Regions from separate parts of the Homo sapiens genome. Here region 1 is linked to region 2. The links are contacts of gene promoters, found by promoter capture Hi-C in human tissues and cell types (Jung and others, 2019). All regions are on one chromosome and are shown on one strand. The core of a region is centred on a gene start or on the middle of the fragment in contact, and the rest is flanking DNA. Distances in the headings are between cores, read along the strand shown. Region 1 overlaps CCDC30 (coiled-coil domain containing 30). Region 2 holds the start of CLDN19 (claudin 19).

Region 1 (4,840 bases), core at 654-3,153, 200 kb after region 2:
TAAAGAAAATGCAATCTTATATTGTAGCCCCTACCCTGAGTAAGACTCACTATCAGTGGTCTGGGGGCGGAAATGGAAATCTGTACTTTAAATAAGCCTCCCATGTAATTCTGTAAGTAGATGCTTTGAGAATCACTGCCTTTTGTGATTTGGCAAACCATTTGCTCAGTCTTTTTGTTTTGTTTTGACAAACAGATTCTAAAGATTTCCTTTCCTGAAAGGTTACTCTATATCTTCATATAAAATGAAAAAACATTTCCTTCAGGGAGTAGAAAGGATGGGTGGGGAATGATTCTAAGAAAGGAAGATGGGCTAGGCGCAGTGGCTCATGCCTGTAATCCTAGCACTTTGGGAGGCTGAGGTGGGAGGACTGCTTGAGGCCAGGAGTTTGAGTCCAGCCTAAGCAACATAGCAAGACCCCGTGTCTGTACCCAAATAAACAAACAAATAGAATGGAATAAAAAATAAGAAAGGAAAATGGATCCCCATCAAAGTATTGTGCTAAGGTAGACAATAGCCTGCCTGATTCATATCCTGAGCCTGTCTGAAAATGCAAAGCTTCTACATGTTTGATTCTAAGAACACAATGGACTTAATTATAAAGATCAATTTAAGTTTACTTTAAGAGATCCCTTTGGTTTCCTATGCCTTTTCAATTCTCTGAAGAGAAACTACAGTGTGTAAAATGGACTATAATCTCATAAAATCCATAAAATCTCATATGGACTATAACCTTTCTAGGGGAGAAGGTTGGTCTTGAACTAGTCCTTTCAAGTTGGGAAGATATAGATAAGAGAAGAGACTACAAATAGCACATTTTAAGCATGGGGAGCAATATGGCCAAAGGCACTGACATAGAACTGAGTATAGAGTAATTTGGGGGAAAGTAAGGAGGATGATTTCATTGGAATAGAGGCTACAAAGTAAGGAGCTGCAGAAATAAGGCAAGATTGCCGGAGTTTGAGACCAGCCTGGCCAACATGGTGAATCCCCATCTCTACTAAAAATAGAAAAATTAGCCAGGTGTGGTGGTACATGCTGCAACCCCAGTTACTCGGATGGCTGAGGCATGAAAATCACTTGAACCTGTGAGGTGGAGATTGCAATGAGCCAAGATCGTGCCACAGCACTCCAGCGTGAGTGAGAAAGACAACTGAGTGAGAAAGAAAGAAAAGAAAGCAAGGTAGGAAGGAAGGGAGGGAGGGAAGGAGGGGAAAAAAAAAAAAAGAAGGCCAGTTGTGGTGGCTCACACCTGTAATCCCAGCACTTTGGGAGGCTGAGGTGGGCAGATCATGAGGTCAGGAGTTCAAGACCAGCCTGGCCAACATAGTGAAATCCCGTCTCTACTAAAAATACAAAAAATTAGCTGGGCGTGGTGGCAGGTGCCTGTAGTCCCAGCTACTCAGAAGGAATAAGGCAAGATTGAAGGGAGAGGTCAGATTATAAAGGAACGTAAAAGACAATTTTATTAATGAGCTTGCATTATTTTTGTAAGCAGGAAAAAATATTCCAAAATGCTACTTAATCACTAATCTTTGTGGTCATTGTAAAAATGTAAACATTACAGATAATAAATGTTAGTCACTTAAGTAGTAAAGAAAGGCAGCCTGGCAAAATAGGGAGACCCTGTCTTTATTAAAGAAAAATTTAGGCCGGGCGCGGTGGCTCACGCCTGTAATCCCAGCACTTTGGGAGGCCGAGGCGGGTGGATCATGAGGTCAGGAGATCGAGACCATCCTGGCTAACAAGGTGAAACCCCGTCTCTACTAAAAATACAAAAAAAAATTAGCCGGGCGCGGTGGCGGGCGCCTGTAGTCCCAGCTACTCGGGAGGCTGAGGCAGGAGAATGGCGTGAACCCGGGAAGCGGAGCTTGCAGTGAGCCGAGATTGCGCCACTGCAGTCCGCAGTCCGGCCTGGGCGACAGAGCGAGACTCCGTCTCAAAAAAAAAAAAAAAAAAAAAAGAAAAATTTAAAATTAGCCAGGTGTGGTGCCATGTGCCTGTGGTCTCAGCTCCTTGGGAGGCTGAGGCAGGACAATCACCTGAGGCCAGGAGGGGGAGGTGAGCTATGATCTTGCCGCTGCATTCCAATCTGGGTGATAGAGAGACCTCATCTCAGAAAAAAAAAGGATAAAACAGTGGAGTTTAGATTTGACGTTATAGCAAACTGAAAGCTGCTGAGGGTTTCTGCAAAGGATGGTGACACTAACACAAAGCATTTTCTAGGTATTCTGAATTCTCACATGACAAAGTAGTGTATATCTTAAGTGAGTAGAAGCTTTATTCTTTATAACAAAGAAAGTTAAAGCCATCAGACCCTCCATGACATGGCTATTGTGGAACAGGACCAACTCTGTTCCACAGACTTCTTCCTACCAAAATTGTATCTTAGTGATATAGCTCAGTTTAATAATCAGCCATGTTTAAGTAGCATAAGAATTAAGCTTATGGTTCCACTTTCTGATTGAGGCCTTAGGCTAGGGTAGAAAGAGCATAGGCTGAGAATCACCATGTAACTTGGCAGCAGTCTAATATCCCTGGGCCTTGGTGTTCTTATGTGTAAACTGAAGGAGTTGGTCTACATGATCATACTCATTTCAGCTCTAAAATTCTGTATGAGTCTAGATGTTGTAACCCAAACAAAAATGACAGCCTGTAAAATGTGGGCTTCAGCAAATACATACAGCTTCTTTAGCAAGACTATCTTTAAGTCTAAAGCACTCTATATTCTGAAGAAAAACTAGAATATAACTTAAAAATCAAAGATTCAAAACAGAAACTTTTAATGAGTAAAAGTTTGATGGGAAACATAACACATAGTCTCAAAGTATCTCCCCACAAGATATGTATCTATTGCAAAGGCAAAAGTAATAACTTTGTAGTGTAGAAATCTAGCAGACAGTACCTTAACCAAATGATCCAAGTTAATATCATGAGGAATAGAACAAAAATGTCATGTCTCCTGATAAAATACACTGAGAAGGATACAACATTATCTCTGTAGTGTGGGTAATCTGAATTACATCGTGAGAAAACATCAGACAAATCCAAATTAAGAGACATTCTTCAAAATCAATGGTCTTGTTATGCACTGCATGTTTGTGTTGACTCAAAGTTCATATGTTGAAAGCCTTACCCTCAATGGGATGGTATTAGGAGGACACATTGGCAAGTAACTAATGCACAAGGGTGCAGCCCTCATGATTGTAGTAGTGCCCTTTTGAGAAGAGACAGGAAAAAGCTTGCACTCTCTCTCTCTCTTTGCTGTTGGCCATGTGAAGATACAATGAGAAGATAGCTGTCTGCAAATCAGGAAGAATGCCCTCACCAGACACTGAATATGCCAGATATGCCAACATCTTGATCTTTGATTTCCCAGCCTCTAGAACTGAGAGAAATAAATATTTGTTGTTTAATCTACCCAGTCTATTGTATTATGTTATAGCAGCCCAAACTGACTGAGACAGTACTCTTCGAAAATATCAAAATCATAAAAGACAAAGACAGACTGAGGAACTTTTGCAGATTGAAGGAGCTATAGAGACATGACAATTAAATGCAATGTATGATCCTGGGTTGGATCTCAGACTAGGAAAAAAGTTATTCTCTTGCTATAGAGGGGAATCAGAATAAAATCTGAATACGAGCTATAGATTAGATAATGGTATTGTGTCAATGTCAATTTCCTGATTTTGAGACTTGTACTGTGGTAATAGGAGATGTTATTGTTTTTAGTAAACCCACATGGAAATATTTAAGGGTAAAGGAGATTATGTCTCCAACTTACTCTCAAAGAGTTTATAAAAAACTGTGTGTGTGTGTGTGTATGTGTATGTGTGTGTGTGTGTGTGTAGAGGGAAAGAGAGACAATGATAAGGTAAACACGATACCATGTTAACATTTGGAAGAGTGAAAGTATATGGGAAGTCTTTGTACTTTCATAATTTTTTCTGTGAGTCTGATATTATTTCAACATAAAAAGTTTAAGAAAAAAGGAGACCCAGATTACCAGAAGAGCAGATCTGGATCTCTTTATTTTATATTATATTCTTCTCATTTCAGCTCATCTGTTGTTAACTTTTTCAATGATATTTTAAAAGGCCTGGCCCTTTAACTGTACAACGTGATGATAACTTACCTTGCTGACAAGGTCCCACAAAAAAGGCTTAGTTGTATATTATGCTCTACATAGCTACTCTCCCAGGCAGCAAACCCTATGTTCTGGACCTTTCCCTCCCATGTCACATGCTATCTGATCTATGTCCCAATCCCTCAGCAACCTGCTCCTGATTTTCTGGGATAACTACACATAGGTTAAATTAGGCTTTGATTTAGTTACTCACCTTACATATGGTGTTAAAATATAGCCTAATATATTTTAACTGCTGTATTCAAGACTTTGCTCCTTAATCTTTAGTCTAGGTCAAAAGAGTGATCGAGGAAAGGAATTTTCAGCCAGGAGGAGATAGTGATAACCTAATAGGTGGGACTCTAGAAATTATACAGGCAACCTTTCAGTCTAGTATTGGACTAGATGGGAATCCTTTGCCCTGGCCAGGTAGCCTTTTCTTTTTTTTTTTTTTTAGAGATGGGGTCTCACTGTGCTGCCCAGGCTGAAATGCAGTGGCTATTCACAGGCACAATCACAGCACACTACAGCCTCTAACTCCTGGGCACATTTTTAAACTTAGGCTCCCTGGAAGCCATTTTTAAACTTAAGGAACAAGCTTGAATCAGGACATTTGAACATTTTCCTAATTCTAAGCCCAATTTTCAGTGTAACTGAGAAAGACGCTTTGGTCCTAAATTTTTAAATTGAAGACATTTAAATAAATCTTTT
Region 2 (4,997 bases), core at 830-3,329:
TGGGCTCCTGACCCAGGTCCCCCTGAAACCAGAATGACCCCTGGATCTTCCCTACAGAGAGAGCGCCTGCAGATGGCGGGGAAAAGGGGCCAAGGCCCAGCGTGGAGAGAAGGAGGACTTTGCCTTTGGAGGAGCATATGCGGAGCAGCTACCCAGCACCAGGCCCCTGCCCTCCCCAGACATCGCTTACTTTAACGGACCACCACAACTCCATGAAGCAAACCTCCCATTTAGAGTGAGGACCCTGAGGCACCACAGTCATTCAGGTCACCCCTGGGGAGCATCTTGTCACTGCCCGCAGCCCCCTTCAATCTGGACCTGGTGCCTCCCTCAAAAAGGGAGGAGTGTGGGAGAGAGACCACAGGGGCCAGCACCACACAGTTTCAAGCGGAAAGCCCTTCCTGCTGTTTCCTGGCTGGGGGTCTATTACCTCCCTCTGCCGTGGTCTCCTTACTGTTAGGAGGCCTGCTGCCTGCAACAGTGGCCCACATGCTTAAATTAATGCACTGGTCACAGGGTGCCCATTGCGGCCCCAGTAGGATGGAGGAGGCTCCCCTCAATCCTACTGTCTTGTCATTGTGGTAGAAGAATCTGAGCTCAGGACTTACTTCTCTGCCACTGTCCTAGACCCCATTTGGTCTTGGGACCCACAGGTCGTCCAGGAAGCAGGTCTGTGTGTGCTCGGATCCACGTGGCTCTGACCCTCCCAGCACAGAGAGCCTGAGGGTCCCAGTGTGCACCACCACAGGTCAAGCAGTGCCCACCCTTGACCCTCAGATGGCAGACCACTCCCCCATCTCTGGCCAGAGCTGCAGGCCATACCAGAGGCCTACGCCCTGGGCGGGCACACAGGGCTGCCATTGTCTGCTCAGCGCCTGGCACCCTCTCGTTTGCATAGCCACGTGAAGAATGCAAGAGCGGGCTGGGGACTTGTCCCTTCAGAGGGGGGTTGGGGCTGTGGGGGAGGAAGCCAGCAGGGGTCTGCAGCAGGACCCTGCCTTCCCCCAGTGCAGTCCAGGAAGGGTGGGTGGGCTGTTGGGGACGGAGGGGGCGGCGGGGGGCTGGCAGGAGTGGAAGCAGGGTTGTGACATTCCTTCTGCACCCACGCTGCAGTGGGGCCCACTTGAACGTGAGGGGATTGCTAATGAGGTGGAAGAGAGTTAAACATTCCCCTACTCCTGAAGACCAAGAGAGACTGGGAGAGAGAAGAGGGAGGTGGGGGTGCTCGGAGCGGGCAGCCTGAACCCCGGGAATGTGCAGAGGCCACTGCTCCGCGCCAGGCTGCTCTAGAGTTGGGGGCCAGGGCCCAGTGTTCCAGTCCCAGCAGGAGCTACTAAGCCAGCCAGCAAGGGGATTAAGGGGCTGAGCAATCCGCCTTCCTTCAGGCTGATGCCAGAAGGTTGGGGCTGTCTCCCCAGCTCCCCACCAGGCCCCTTGCTGGCCGGCAGCCAGCGCTGGCCCAGCCTCGATAGGGCCCCTTTTCTGTCCCCCTCAGATCTCAAAAAGACCCCACAGTACATATTTCCTGGTCTGGCCTCCCTGATTTTTGGCACACACAGCTCCCAGGTACCCATGACCCCTCTTCCCAACACCCCACCGCTAGCTCAGCCTCCCCACATCCAGCTTCAGAGCCCCTGCCAAAAAGTTATCCTTGACATCTAACTCTAGTTTTACCCGCTGCAAACTGGCATTCCTTTCCCTTCTGTCCTAAAGTCAAAGGGCAGAAAACCCCAAGGGTTAGATCAGCCTTGCAAGAGCAAAGTCCATCCTCCCAGGGCTGGTGTTTGGGTTAGGGATTATCCGAATTTTAGGACACCCGAATCAGGTTCCTAAAGGGGTTTCCCTGTGGGGAAAGGCCCAGAGGGCAGCTGGGTCATTCCTCTCAGCCCCTCCCTTCCCTATCCCTGCGGAACGGGGCGGGGCAGGGACACCACCTGGGCCATGGGCCGGCCCTCCGCCCCCAGGGGGCTGGGCATGAGCTTTGCTGGGGACCCTGCTCTGGCTTAGGCGGCTGCTGTGGGCGGGCCCTGGCCTTTTCCAGCCCCTGGGCCTCCCCCTGCATTCTGGAGTCCAGAGCCACTGCCTTTGCTCCAGCCGCTGCCGCCGCACCACCTCTCCTTCTCTGCCTCTGACCCTCCTTCTCGCTGCTCCCCCTGCCCAGCTGCTCCTCCCACCTGGCCATGACCAAAGCCCCTGCTGGCACCCTGGCCCAGCTCTGAGTCCTGGGACCCTCGGTCCTCTCTCCTGGGCCATGGCCAACTCAGGCCTCCAGCTCCTGGGCTACTTCTTGGCCCTGGGTGGCTGGGTGGGCATCATTGCTAGCACAGCCCTGCCACAGTGGAAGCAGTCTTCCTACGCAGGCGACGCCATCATCACTGCCGTGGGCCTCTATGAAGGGCTCTGGATGTCCTGCGCCTCCCAGAGCACTGGGCAAGTGCAGTGCAAGCTCTACGACTCGCTGCTCGCCCTGGACGGTAGGCCCCAGGCCGGCGGGGTGGGAGATGGGAGGTGGGAACAGCAGGGGAGTCTGGAGCAAGTTTTCCTCACAGTCTGCTATCTGCGCTGGGCTCCAACCTCCAGCCTCCGCTCTACAATTCCCCCACTACTGCCCTGTGCCCATTGACGGTCCAGGCCAGCCTGCTGCCCTGTGGGAGGGGAGGGCTCTAGGGTCTGGCGGCTGTGGGTCCAGATTCCTGCTCTGTCACTATAACTTTGAACTAGTCACCAAACCTCTTCCCATTGTGATGTTCTCATCTCTAAAGGGGAATACTAATACCTGTGGCACTCTGAAAGACTCAGTTAAGACCCTTCATCCACTTCTCCCCACAGTCAGTAGACAGACACACACTGTATGATGCACACCTGCTCCCTAGTCCTGCTCCCAGGCCTGTGTGCCAGCATATGGGTGCATGCACATGCATGCAAACACGCATGCACACGCACACACGTGCACATGCATGCACAGACAGGTGTGTCTGCATGCAGTCCCTCTCCTTCTGGGGTGTGGAGATGAGCCTGACAGGCACCGCCGAAGTTCTAACTCTGGGGTGGAGGTGATCCACCTGCAATCTGCCCAGGAGCCCCCAGGGACAATCTGCTCCCCATGGGAGCTGGGAGCAGAGCGGCCTTCAACCAGCCCCATTGTGCCAGTTCAGGCAGGTCAGTTCAGGCAGGTCATCTAGCCTCGCTGAGGGACCCAGGTCTCCTGAGCACCCCCCAGGGCCCAGGATGGACCCATGCACCCGTGAAGAGGCAAGCTTCCAGCTGCCATGGGCAGAGGGGAAAGTGACTGTTGTCTGAATGGCTGCTGGGGAGGGGTTGCTGCGGGGCTCAGGCTGAGTTGAGCTGGGCCTCAGATACCCCCAGCTCTTCCACCTACCAAACCTGAGGGGACCCTGGAGCTGCCCTCAGCTGCTTGGGAGGATGGGCCAAGCCCAAGAGGGAGTCCCCAGGCCAGAAAGCAACAGCAGAGTGAATCATACTACCGGAAAAGCCTGCAAGGGCGAGTGGAGAATGGCGTTGACAGTGAAGGGGACTCTCACCCCCACACCCTGTCCTCATGCCCGGGCTGTCACTCCTCACTATCCTGCACCTGCCAGAAGGTGGTCTGACCCCCCAGGCCAGCTCCTGCTCAAGCCCCTCTCAAGCTGGGCTCCTTCCACCGACCCCAGGCACCGACCCAACCCCCATCCCCGCCAGCCCGACTCAGTGTCATCCCGCCCACCCTAGGTCACATCCAATCAGCGCGGGCCCTGATGGTGGTGGCCGTGCTCCTGGGCTTCGTGGCCATGGTCCTCAGCGTAGTTGGCATGAAGTGTACGCGGGTGGGAGACAGCAACCCCATTGCCAAGGGCCGTGTTGCCATCGCCGGGGGAGCCCTCTTCATCCTGGCAGGTGAGTGCCCCTCACTCCTGCACAATCACAACCATGGCAGGCAGCCCCAGCCCCAGTGGCCTCGGGGGGCCAGAGCAGAGCTGAGCGCCCCTCTGCTTTGTCTTTAGGCCTCTGCACTTTGACTGCTGTCTCGTGGTATGCCACCCTGGTGACCCAGGAGTTCTTCAACCCAAGCACACCTGTCAATGCCAGGTGGGTGCCAGGGCTTGGGTCTTTTGCTTTACCTCCTCTGGGGCCACTGACCTTTGTCCACTGGATCACCTGGCGGGGGAAGTGGGGACAGGATCCAGCTGCTGTCCAAGAAGCTTTAAAGGGGGGCGCCAGGAGGAGTGTGGTGGGGCCCTCCATAGGGGCGGGAGGCCTGTGATGGGCACCCAGGTGCAGCAAGGACTCTCTAAGGACCTAAGTGCCCTGGCTCTGGGTTTCAATCCCAGCTCTGGCTGGGTGCAGTGGCTCACGCCTGTAATCCCAGCACTTTGGGAAGCCAAGATGGGTGGATCACCTGAGGTCAGGAGTTCAAGACCAGCCTGGCCAACATGGTGAAACCCCGTCTCTATTAAAAATACAAAAAATATCTGGGCATGGTGGCGGGCGCCTGTAATCTCAGCTACTCGGGAGGCAGAGGCAGGAGAATAGCTTGAACCCGGGAGGCAAAAGTTGCAATGAGCCGAGATTGCGCCACTGCACTCCAGTCTGGGTGACAGAGTGAGATTTTGTCTCAAAAAAATCAAACGATCAATCAATCCCAGCTTTGCATGCACTGTGTCACCTGGGCAAGTTACTTAATCTTTCTGTGCCTAGTTTCCTCCTCTGTGAAATGGAGCTAGAACCTGAGCACCAGTTCACACATGGTTGTCAGGATCCAGCAGGATGCAGGTGAGGGTGTGGCACCGTGCCCGGGCCCTGGACAGTACCCAGCAAGCCTGAGCTGTTTTCATTTCTGCTGGTGGCAGCAGGGCTGAGATGACTTCCTGCAGGAGGCAGCAGTTATTCTGGGCCAGGAAGAAACTTGAGAATAAGGGCAGATCGTGGAGGGCCTTGCAACCACAGGAAGATTTTGTTCCTCATTTGGGTGGAGGCAGCGGCAGTCCTTCTGGCTGTGA

What was found. Contacts are between HindIII fragments. The study calls those that stand out against the background at their distance.
Region 1: a contact is called between a fragment that was not itself captured here and the fragment with the promoter of CLDN19 in region 2, in 4 of the 25 tissues and cell types used here (IMR-90 fibroblasts, bladder, dorsolateral prefrontal cortex and 1 more).

The regions. Positions count from the first base shown.
Region 1 is chr1:42,539,663-42,544,502 of GRCh38, reverse strand. The region is part of intron 8 of CCDC30 (coiled-coil domain containing 30); the gene reads right to left. Among named protein-coding and RNA genes, the nearest start is that of CCDC30, 79 kb to the right of the region's middle. The HindIII fragment of the contact is 4,163 bases long and covers 1-3,984 here.
Region 2 is chr1:42,737,318-42,742,314 of GRCh38, reverse strand. It overlaps CLDN19 (claudin 19), which reads left to right and starts at 2,079. Exons shown (of 5, transcript NM_148960.3): 1 at 2,079-2,474; 2 at 3,730-3,894; 3 at 4,002-4,086. The coding sequence starts at 2,252. RefSeq lists an enhancer at 120-722. The HindIII fragment of the contact is 9,679 bases long and covers 1-3,728 here.